Regions from separate parts of the Homo sapiens genome. Here region 2 is linked to region 1. Evidence: promoter capture Hi-C in 16 types of primary human blood cells and fetal thymus (Javierre and others, 2016). All regions are on one chromosome and are shown on one strand. Each heading gives the region's core, a stretch centred on a gene start or on the middle of the fragment in contact. The rest is flanking DNA. Distances are from core to core; before and after follow the strand shown. Region 1 holds the start of ANXA6 (annexin A6). Region 2 overlaps DCTN4 (dynactin subunit 4).

The links. Contacts are between HindIII fragments. The CHiCAGO score rates a contact against its expected background, and 5 or more counts as called.
Region 2: a contact is called between a fragment that was not itself captured here and the fragment with the promoter of ANXA6 in region 1, in 3 of 17 cell types (naive CD4 T cells, activated CD4 T cells and fetal thymus). The highest score is 6.1, in naive CD4 T cells.

The regions. Positions count from the first base shown.
Region 1 is chr5:151,156,529-151,161,472 of GRCh38, reverse strand. ANXA6 (annexin A6) reads left to right here and starts at 3,694. Exons shown (of 26, transcript NM_001155.5): 1 at 3,694-3,793. RefSeq lists a silencer at 2,822-2,881 and an enhancer at 2,677-3,533. The HindIII fragment of the contact is 7,741 bases long and covers 3,390-4,944 here.
Region 2 is chr5:150,709,078-150,714,021 of GRCh38, reverse strand. DCTN4 (dynactin subunit 4) reads left to right here. Exons shown (of 13, transcript NM_016221.4): 13 at 2,660-4,944. The coding sequence ends at 2,873. Among named protein-coding and RNA genes, the nearest start is that of RBM22, 10 kb to the right of the region's middle. The HindIII fragment of the contact is 3,508 bases long and covers 773-4,280 here.

The sequences.
Region 1 (4,944 bases), core at 2,445-4,944:
GTGCATTTTTCTATCAGGTGAGGGTCTGGCAATAGCTGGGCGCAGATAAGATTGTGAGTTATTCGCACAGGAGGGCTATGCATCCTGGGCCATGAAGAAAGGCAGACTTATAGCTTATCTGCTTTCTCTTTTTGCTTTCCCTTGGTCCTGCCAGCCTGACTCCTTTTGCCGAACTAGGACTCCATATTTAGTTCTCTTCTCCCTTAAGGATCTCATCTCTTGAACTCCAGACTTGACTAGCCAACTGCGTACTTGACATCTCCTGTTGGGTGTCTAATAGAAATGTTCAACAAACTGGTCAAAAACTGAACTCCTGATCTTTTCCCCACTTCTAATTCCCAAAATTGCTTTCCCTGCAGTCTTGCTCATTTCAGTTGATGGTAACTCCATCCTTCCAGTGGCTCAGGCCAGGATCCCTGAAGCCATTCTTGACTCTTTCTCATCTCCCACCTGATCCTTCGGAAATCATGTTCAACCTTCAAATACATCCCATCTCCAACCACTTCCCCCACCTGCATTTATACCAGCCTGTCTCTTGCCTGGATTACTGCAAAATCTCCTAGCAGATCCCCTTCTTCTACTCTTCCCCCAACAGTATTCAGTATTTCCAACACAGGAGACTTCAGTGACCCTTTAAAAAATATGTCTTGGCCAGGTGCGGTGGCTCACACCTGTAATCCCAGCACTTTGGGAGGCCAAGGCAGGTGGATCACCTGAGGTCAGGAGTTCAAGACCAACCTGGCCAACATGATGAATCCCCGTCTCTACTAAAAAAATACAAAAATTAACTGGGCATGGTAGCAGGTGCCTGTAATCCCAGCTATTTGGGAGGCTGAGGCGGAAAGAATTGCTTGAACCCACGAGGTGAAGGTTGCAGTGAGCCGACATGGCACCACTGCACTCCAGCCTGGGCAACAGAACGAGCCTCTGTCTCAAACAAACACAAAAGTCTTATCCAGAATATAAAAAGAACTCATATAACTTAACAACAAAAAAGACAAAAAATCCAATTTAAAAATGAGCAAAAAGCATGATTAGATATTTTTCCAAAGAAGATGTACAAATAGTGGCCAATGAGCACACAAAAAAGATACTCCACATCATTAGTCAGAAGGGAAATGCAAATCAAAAACACAATTATAGATGCCATTTCATAATGACTAGAGCACAAGTTTTTTGTACTTTTGTTTTTTTGAGACAAGTTCTCACTCTGTCGCCCAGGCTGGAGTGCAGTGGTGCAATCACGGCTCACTGCAGCCTCTACCTTCCAGCTTCAAGGGATCATCCCACCTCAGCCTCTCCAGTAGCTGGGATTGCAGGCATGTGCCACTACCCCTGGTTAATTTTTTGTAGAGATGCGGTTTCGTCATGTTGTCCAGGCTGGTCTCAAACTCGTGGGCTCAAGCAATTCACCCACCTCGGCCCTCCCAAAGTACTGGCATTACAGGCATGAGCCACTGTGCCTGGCCGGGTACAAATTTTTAAAAAATAAAATACAAGTGTTGGCAAGGACATGGAGAAATTAAAAGCCTCATACATGACATGGCTGATGGGAATATAAAATGTTGCAGCCACTCTGAAAAAATGTTTGGCAGTTCCTCAAAAACTTAAATGTAGAATTACTATATGACCCAGCAGTTTCATTCCTAGGTAAATACACAACGACAATTGAAAACAGGTACTCAAATAAGTATTTGTATGCAAATGTTCATTAGCAGCACTATTCACAATCAGCAAAAGGGGGAAACAATGCACTATCCATCAACAGATGGATGGATAAACAAATTATAGTGTACTTATACAACGGAAAATTATTCAGCCATTAAAAGGAATGGAGTGCTGGACCGGACACGGTGGCGCATGCCTGTAATCCCAGCACTTTGGGAGGCAAAGGCGGGTGGATCACCTGAGGTCAGGAGTTCGAGACCAGCCTAACTAACATGGTAAAACCCCATCTCTACTAAATACAAAAATAAATTAGCCACACGTGGTGGTGCATGCCTGTAATCCCAGCTGCTCGGAAGGCTGAGGCAGGAGAATTCCTTGAATCTGAGAGGTGGAGGTTGCAGTGAGCCGAGATCACGCCATTGCACTCCAGCCTTGGCAACAAGAGCAAAACTCCAACTGAAACTAAAAAAAAAAAGGAATGGAGTGCTGATACATGCTACAGTGTGGATGAACTTCAAAAACATGCCACATGAGGCCAGGCACGGTGGCTCACGCCTGTAATCCCAGCACTTTGGGAGGCCGAGGCAGGTGGATCACCTGAGGTCGGGAGTTCAAGACCAACCTGACCAACATGGAAAAACCCCGTCTCTACTAAAAATACAGAATTAGCTGGGTGTGGTGGCGCATGCCTGTAATCCCAACTACTCGGGAGGCTGAGGCAGGAGAATTGCTTGAACCCAGGAGGCAGAAGTTGTGGTGAGCAGAGATCACGCCACTGCACTCCAGCCTGGGCGACAAGAGTGAAAAAACAACAACAAAAACAAACAAACAAAATGCCACATGAAAGAAGTCAGACAAGAAGGGTTGCATCTCATGTGATTCCATGTATATGAAATATCCAGAATAGGCACATCCGCAGAAGCAGAAAGCAAATTGGTGGTTGCCAGAGACGAGGGGTAAGGGAAAGTTAGGAGTGACTGCTCAGTGGGTATACTGTTTTATTTTTCCGTGAAGAGAATATTTTGGAACTAGATAGAGGTGGTGGATACACAACATTGTGTCTGTACAAAATGCCACTGAATTGTTGACTTTAAAATGGTTAATTTTATGTTGTGTGGATTTCATCTACCCAAAAATAATACCCTTTCTTTGCTCAATATCCTGCAATGGATCCCCAGTTGACTCAGAGTAAAAGACAGCGTGCCTTCAAGGGCCCCGGAGGTCCCACCTGATTGGGTCCCTCTTATCTCTCCTCTCCCTCCCACTCACTCCATTCCAGCCACACTGGCCCCCCTGCTGATCCTCGGAGGCGCCAGGTGGCCTCCTGCTAGGAGCATTTGCTCCAGCAGTTTCCTCTGCCTGGAACACTTTCCGCAGGTATCTGTCCAATTCTTCTAACTTCCTCATCTTCTCCTTACCAATCCCCTGGGGACAATAATTCTCAGTTTCCTCTGTATTCTCAGTTTATCAATTTTTCCTGTTCTAGCGCTGGATTACAACTGCTGGTCTCCCTGCCTGCCTTCCCTGCTTCCCAGAGCACGAAGAAGCTTGCCTCCGCAACCCACTATTTGTGTGACCTTGGTCCAGGAACTGGACTGGGCTCTCCTCCTGAAAGTGGGTAAATAATGTCACCGACCTAATGAGGCTGTTGAGGCATGGAATCTGATCAGGCAGATAAAGTGCCCCTGGCAAACCTCAATTTTCTGTTTCTCAACAAAGCTTTGGCGACTTATAAGAATTTGCGGGAAAGTGTCCAGAACCCGGAGTCAGGAGCCCTGACTTCTAGCCCTGAAGGGCCGCGTGACCTTGGCCAAAGCCCCTAATCCTTCTCAGTCTCAGATCCGGGGGCTGGAAACTGAGGAGGTTCTCCCGGCAAGCCCCTCGGGCTAGTGACATTCTAAGATTCCAAGAGCTAAGGAGCTAGAGGGGTGGGGTGGAGGAGGGAGGCGGGCGCGCCGGATTGGCCTCTGCGCGCCACGTGTCCGGCTCGGAGCCCACGGCTGTCCTCCCGGTCCGCCCCGCGCTGCGGTTGCTGCTGGGCTAACGGGCTCCGATCCAGCGAGCGCTGCGTCCTCGAGTCCCTGCGCCCGTGCGTCCGTCTGCGACCCGAGGCCTCCGCTGCGCGGTGAGTGGGCTGAGGCTGGAGAGGGGAGTCGCTCTGGGAACCCCTTCCCGGGGGCTGCAGGGACACAAGAAATAAGCGCCCAGTCATCGGCTGATGGGTACCCCCCGCCAGGAGCAGGGACGGGAGGGCGCGGTAACCCGAGAGTGTCGCAGACTGGGTGTGTCTGGGGAGCGCAGCGGAGCAAATCTGGGGTCGGGGCGGAGAGGCGCGGGCGGAGGGCGCCCTGGCTAGGGGGAGGGGAGGGAGTCCCGTTGCTGCAGAGGGTCTGGTTGAGGGTCCTGGGCGCCGGAGCTGAGCCAGGGGCTGGTCCTGCCGGCCTTAATTTGGGGGGGCTCAAGAGACTTTGAAGGTCCGGGGTTGGGGTCAGCTGGACGCCAGTCAAAGGACCCGCAGAGAAGGGTGTGGCTGAGGCCCAAGACTGAGAGCAAGAGCGTTGGACCCTCCAGCTGCTTATAAAATGGCTTGTGTGTGGTGTCGGGGGAGGGCTGCCTGCGTGCAGAGAGCTGAACGTCCGGTCGTACATACCTCAGGGCCTCATTGGACCCCATCCCCTTTGGGCCACTGCTTGTCTATGAATGCAGTCTCCCAACGGGGCTCCGAGGCCTCCTATGGTGAGGCAGGGGCACTACCCTTCTTTCTGCATCCCCTAAGCGGTCTAGGCCTTCCCAAAGTTTGGGGGCTTCAAATAATTCCCCATATACCAGCATGGGAGCAAAATACCCTGAATCGGAATCCCAGCCCCTGTTGCAGTGTGACTTTGGGCGGTGGCTTTCCCTCTCTGAGCCTGGATTTCCTTCTCCAAGTCCATAGTTGAGAAACCCAGTCTCTTTCAAAGGAAACAATGGCTTTGAAAACTGATTTATTTGTCAGCTGTATGGAATGATTGCAGGTTTGGGAGTCTTGATTATAGATTTGGGAAGCCTGGCACAACCCTTGTAGGCCCTACAAGGGGAAAGGGCAGGAGGTCCTTTGGGACAACTAATCTGGCCACGGCTTCCTGCCTCCTCCTTCCTTTCCCTAGATTCTAGTGGGTCTTCTCTGACAATTCCAAATTTGGACATATGGCTCCCGGGTTTGTGAAAGGACTCTGGTTTCCCCCCAAGAGTCCGCCCTTTTCCCTCCATTATTCCTTCCCCCTTGCCCAAAACATG
Region 2 (4,944 bases), core at 1,277-3,776, 450 kb after region 1:
CCTCAGCCTCCTGAGGAGCTTGTATTACAGGCAAGCGCCACCACGCCTGGCCAATTTTTGTATTTTTAGTAGAGATGGGGTTTTGCCATGTTGCCCAGGCTGGTCTTGAACTCCTGACCTAAAGTGATCCACCCGACTTGGTCTCCCAAAGTGCTGGGATTACAGGCGTGAGCCACCATGCCTGGCCCATTTACGGTTTTTTGACAGAATGATCAAAAGCTTTCTCAACAAGATATTAGAGAGAAGAGATAACAAGGTGGGTTAGAAAAATAAAGTGAAGCCAGGTGTGGTGGCTGATGCCTGTAATCCCAGCACTTTGGGAGGCTGAGGCAGGCAGATCACTTGAGGTCAGGAGTTTGAGACCAGCCTGGCCAACATGGCGAAATCCTGTCTCTACTAAAAATACAAAAATTAGCCAGGCGTGGTGGCACGTGCCTGTAATCCCAGCTTCTTGGGAGGCTGAGATGGGAGAATCACTTGAACCCTAGGGGCGGGGGTTGCAGTGAACTCAGATCACGCCACTACACTCCAGCCTGGGCAACAGAGCCAGACTCCGTCTCAAAAAAAAAAAAAAAAGAAAAGAAAAGAAAAATAAAGTGAAGGCAAAGGTGAGATTAGTTTAGTGATACCAAACGTGGGTTAACTTCAGAAAGCACCAGGTCAAGTGTTGTTTTGTTTTGTTGTTCGATAGCATTCCAGACCCTAACCCCAGAGGATTTTTTTTAGCAGGTCTAGCTAGGGACCAGAAATCCAAATTTGTTTTGGAAAAGCTTCCCAGGTATCAGTGGTTGCCTGGGAAATTAAGGATAAAAAGAAAGACTGATGTTTTTCTTTTTACCATTTTAAACTGTTTGAATTATTTTTTACATGACTCATACAAATCAAAGGTCTGGTTAGTTACTGTAATACAAAATGTGCTGAGTTGTACAGTACAAAATGTGTTCTCTCAAATCCTTGCTTTATGTGGGTCCTCAAATTAATTAGGTACAGAAATTTGTTAAGCCAAGATATACTTCTGGAATGATTGTCTGAGATATCAGATTTCAGCCTGATTACATGATAGAGTAATTAAAAACTGAATTAATTATATTTTACATTATTAGATTTAATAGAACTTTCAGATTTCTGGAAACTAACACTGTATAAATATGTAAATATGTAATCCCAGTAACCTTTCTTAGAGTAACTGAATGTCATTTGGGTAGTAGACAAATTCTGTTTATTTCATTGCCCTTTTACTTTCAGAAACTAAGTTATTAAAGCACAAACTGTATGCACAAATGAGGGGAAATTGAAATGCAAACCTCAATGAAGAGACATTTTTGTGCTAAAATTCCTAATTACATAAGTTATTTACAAAAACATTCTTGATTTATGGTGTTCCAAAATTTCCCTTAAAGCACTGAGTTATTAAAACTTCCCACAGTATGGCCAGGCATGGTGGCTCATGCCTATAATCCCAGCACTTTGGGAGGCCAAGGCAGAAGGATCATTTGAGCTTAGGAGGTCAAGGCTACCATGAACTATGATCGTGCCACTGCTCTCCAGCCTGGGTAACAGAGCAAAACCTTGTCTCTAAAAAATAAAAATAAGGCCGGGTGCATTGGCTTATGCTTGTGATCCCAGCACTTTGGGAGGCTGAGGCGGGTGGATCACCTGAGATCAGGAGTTCGAGACCAGTCTGACCAATGTGGTGAAACCCCATCTCTACTAAAATTATAAAAATTAGCTGGGCGTGATGGTGTGCACCTGTAATCCCAGCTACTCAGGAGGCCGAGGCAGGAGAATCGCTGGAACCCAGGAGGCGGAGGTTGCGGTGAGCCAAGATTGCGCCACTGCACTCCAGCCTGGGTGACAGAGCGAGACTCCATCTCAAAAAAATAAATAAATAAATAACTTTCCACGGTATGAGTCTATGTTCTATAGAAATATTGCATTTGCACAGAGGTAAATGTAAAGGGATGTTTGCAGCACCATTGTTTATAATAGAGAAAAGTTGTCAGCAACCTCAGTATATGCCAATTATGGTAAACACATAATTGAATACTGTGCAACCATTACATAGATTGTAGATGATCTGTATATACCAGCGTCAAAAGGTGTTTGTGATAAACAGAGTTAAAAAAAAGCAAGTTATGGAATAGTGTGTACCATCTGTGTTGGTTAGAAAAGCAGAAAAGTATAAGCTCATAGAAAAATATATGGCCAACGTGTTGGCTTATGCCCGTAATCCCAGCACTTTTGGAGGCCAAGGCAAGCAGATCACCTGAGCCCTGGTGTTCGAGACCAGCCTGGGCAACGTGGCGAAACCCCATCTCCACCAAAAAATATACGTATTAATATATAAAGCTAGCCAGGTGTGGTGGTGCATGCCTGTAGTCCCAGCTACTCGGGAGGCTGAGATGGGAGAGTTACTTGAGCCCGTGAAACAGAGGTTGCAGTGACCCAAGGTGGAGCCATTGCACTCCAGCCTGGGCGACAGAGCGAGACTGTGTCTCAAAACAAAACAAAAAAATACTTGGTAGGTTAAGAACAAAGTGTTTATAGGTTTTCTGTGTGTGCTGAAGGAAAGAATAAGGTGAAAGACTTTTACTGTAAGTCTTAGTGGTTTGGCTGATTTTTTTATCTACCTAATACTTGCTTTTTTTTCTTTCCATAGCATTATAGCCTTCAGAAAGGCCAACAAAGTGGGTATTTTCATCAAAGTTACACCACAGCGTGAGGAGGGTGAAGTGACCGTGTGCTTCAAGATGAAGCATGATTTTAAAAACCTGGCAGCCCCCATTCGCCCCATTGAAGAAAGTGACCAGGGAACAGAAGTCATCTGGCTCACCCAGCATGTGGAACTTAGCTTGGGCCCACTTCTTCCTTAAAAGGTTCCACTGGAGGGCAGATCCCAAAGGACAGTATCACCGTAAACCTGCGTTAAAATGTGGAAGCTGCTGCTTCATTAGGCCTTGTTTATAACGATGTACCCATGCACTACGGAATTCTATTGCTAAGAAAGTGGGAGCATAGGCAAGGCATTGGGAACACAGGGTAGCTGCTGTTGCTCTTGCTCTCACCCCTGTTGACACCAGTAAGTCTGTGTCTCCCTCACTGAACCCTGCACGTTGAGTAACAGCAGCATAATTCCATCCTAGGAAAGGGGATGGGTGTTCCTTGGAATGGCATTGTATTTACCACCTGAGAAACTCTGTACTGTCTCTTGATCTGATCTCACTAAGGATCACAATGTCACAGATGAAACTTAAATGATAACCCAAAGGTAGACCTGCTGTTAATGATCCAGCATTGGTCACAATGTACCAACTGCTTTCTGCATTCCGTTAAATATCATCTAACAGTCTAAAACATATCCCTTCATTGCCATAATGGCTGCCATTTTGCCATAGATTTCCATATAACTGAAAAACTGAATTGTCACTTTATCTTTAGTATCATGATGATTGGAAAAACCTGTGAAGTTGTTAAGGCACTCTCATTTGCCCTCTTTTTCTAAGTGAATACAGGACACGTATTAGTTGTTCTTAATTTTTTTCCCAGTAAAATATGGATCTTTTAAGAAGAATTTGAGAAGCAAACAATTACATGTCATGTCAAGGGGGTAGCAGATTCCATTCGTTTTCAATATTGCCACAATACCCAGGGATTAATGCTGCCACAGGGGGGCAATCTTTATTTGTCTTACTTCCTACCCCTTCCCTGTTCTGCCTCTTTAACTCAGTTAAGTTGTTCTGTTTGGGACCTGGAAAAGAACCCAAAGAAAACCTGAGTGGACAGGTTCATTTCTGGAATGCAGAAAACATTTTAAAGGCTAGATTTTTAGAATATTCTCAACTAGCATTCTTTCCATTGATTTGAAGGGGAAATTAACTATTATAATCTCTTGAATCCAAAACTGGATATTAAGAACTTTCCCCCTTACTAAGTTTAAGACTTTTGTCATGTGGTGAGTCAAATAAGACCATTTTGATTGTAAACCATAAAATAGTTCAGCAAGTAGCCCACAGTTCTGGCCTAACAGCAGACTTGCTGTTTTCACTTGGTATCCTGGAGTTGGGTTGCTAACCTTAATTTCTATGATGTTTTCTAAAATGAAACTTGATAAAGTAGACCACCAGCTGCACCGTGTTTTCTGTAAAAGTATTGTTAGTAAGTGGCCAAGAGACTTGAGGAAAATACAGATTTTTTGTTTACCTTGGTCTTGTTTTAAGTCTTAAAAAATTAAAGATAACATTATAATGTAGAATACAGATGGGACATAGTCCTTGTAAGCTTCCCTTGAAAATGTTTTAAATATTTAGGAAGCTTTTAAAAGACACTAAATTGTACTCTAAAAGACACTAAATTGTACTAATTGTACAAAGGTCAAGCCAATTTTATGAAACAGTCCTACAGAGTAATATATGTGATGCAGTGTAAGAAGGAAAATACTCATCTCTAACATTATGGTAATAACATTTAGCCTCTTAGGAGTTGGAGCAGGGGGATGGGTAATTACAGATTTGCAGACTATAGAAAGAGTTTCATTTTTTTGTGACCCCACAGAGTCTCAAATTTTTATTTCACTACCTGCTAGAGCCTACTGTGAAATCACTGCTCCATATTTGCCAGTGGAGGAAATGGGCATAGAGTAGAGAATAGCTTCATATGTTTACACGTTTGCATAGACTACACACATGTCATGCGTTTATGGCAGGTAGCTGGTATTTATTCCCCAAAGTAATAATGTTGAAGTATGGGTCTCATCATTCCCATACACAGAAACACAAAACACTTTGATCATAAACTTTTTTCTTCAGAAGCCAAACTAACTTGCAGAATAATAGAGCCACTGGTTTAATGTTTCCTCAAGATAGGTTTTAGTGTAAGCTAGTATTCTGTGTGTTCGTAGAAATGATTCAATACCTGCAGCTGGTGAATTAGGAATTGTATTTGTTG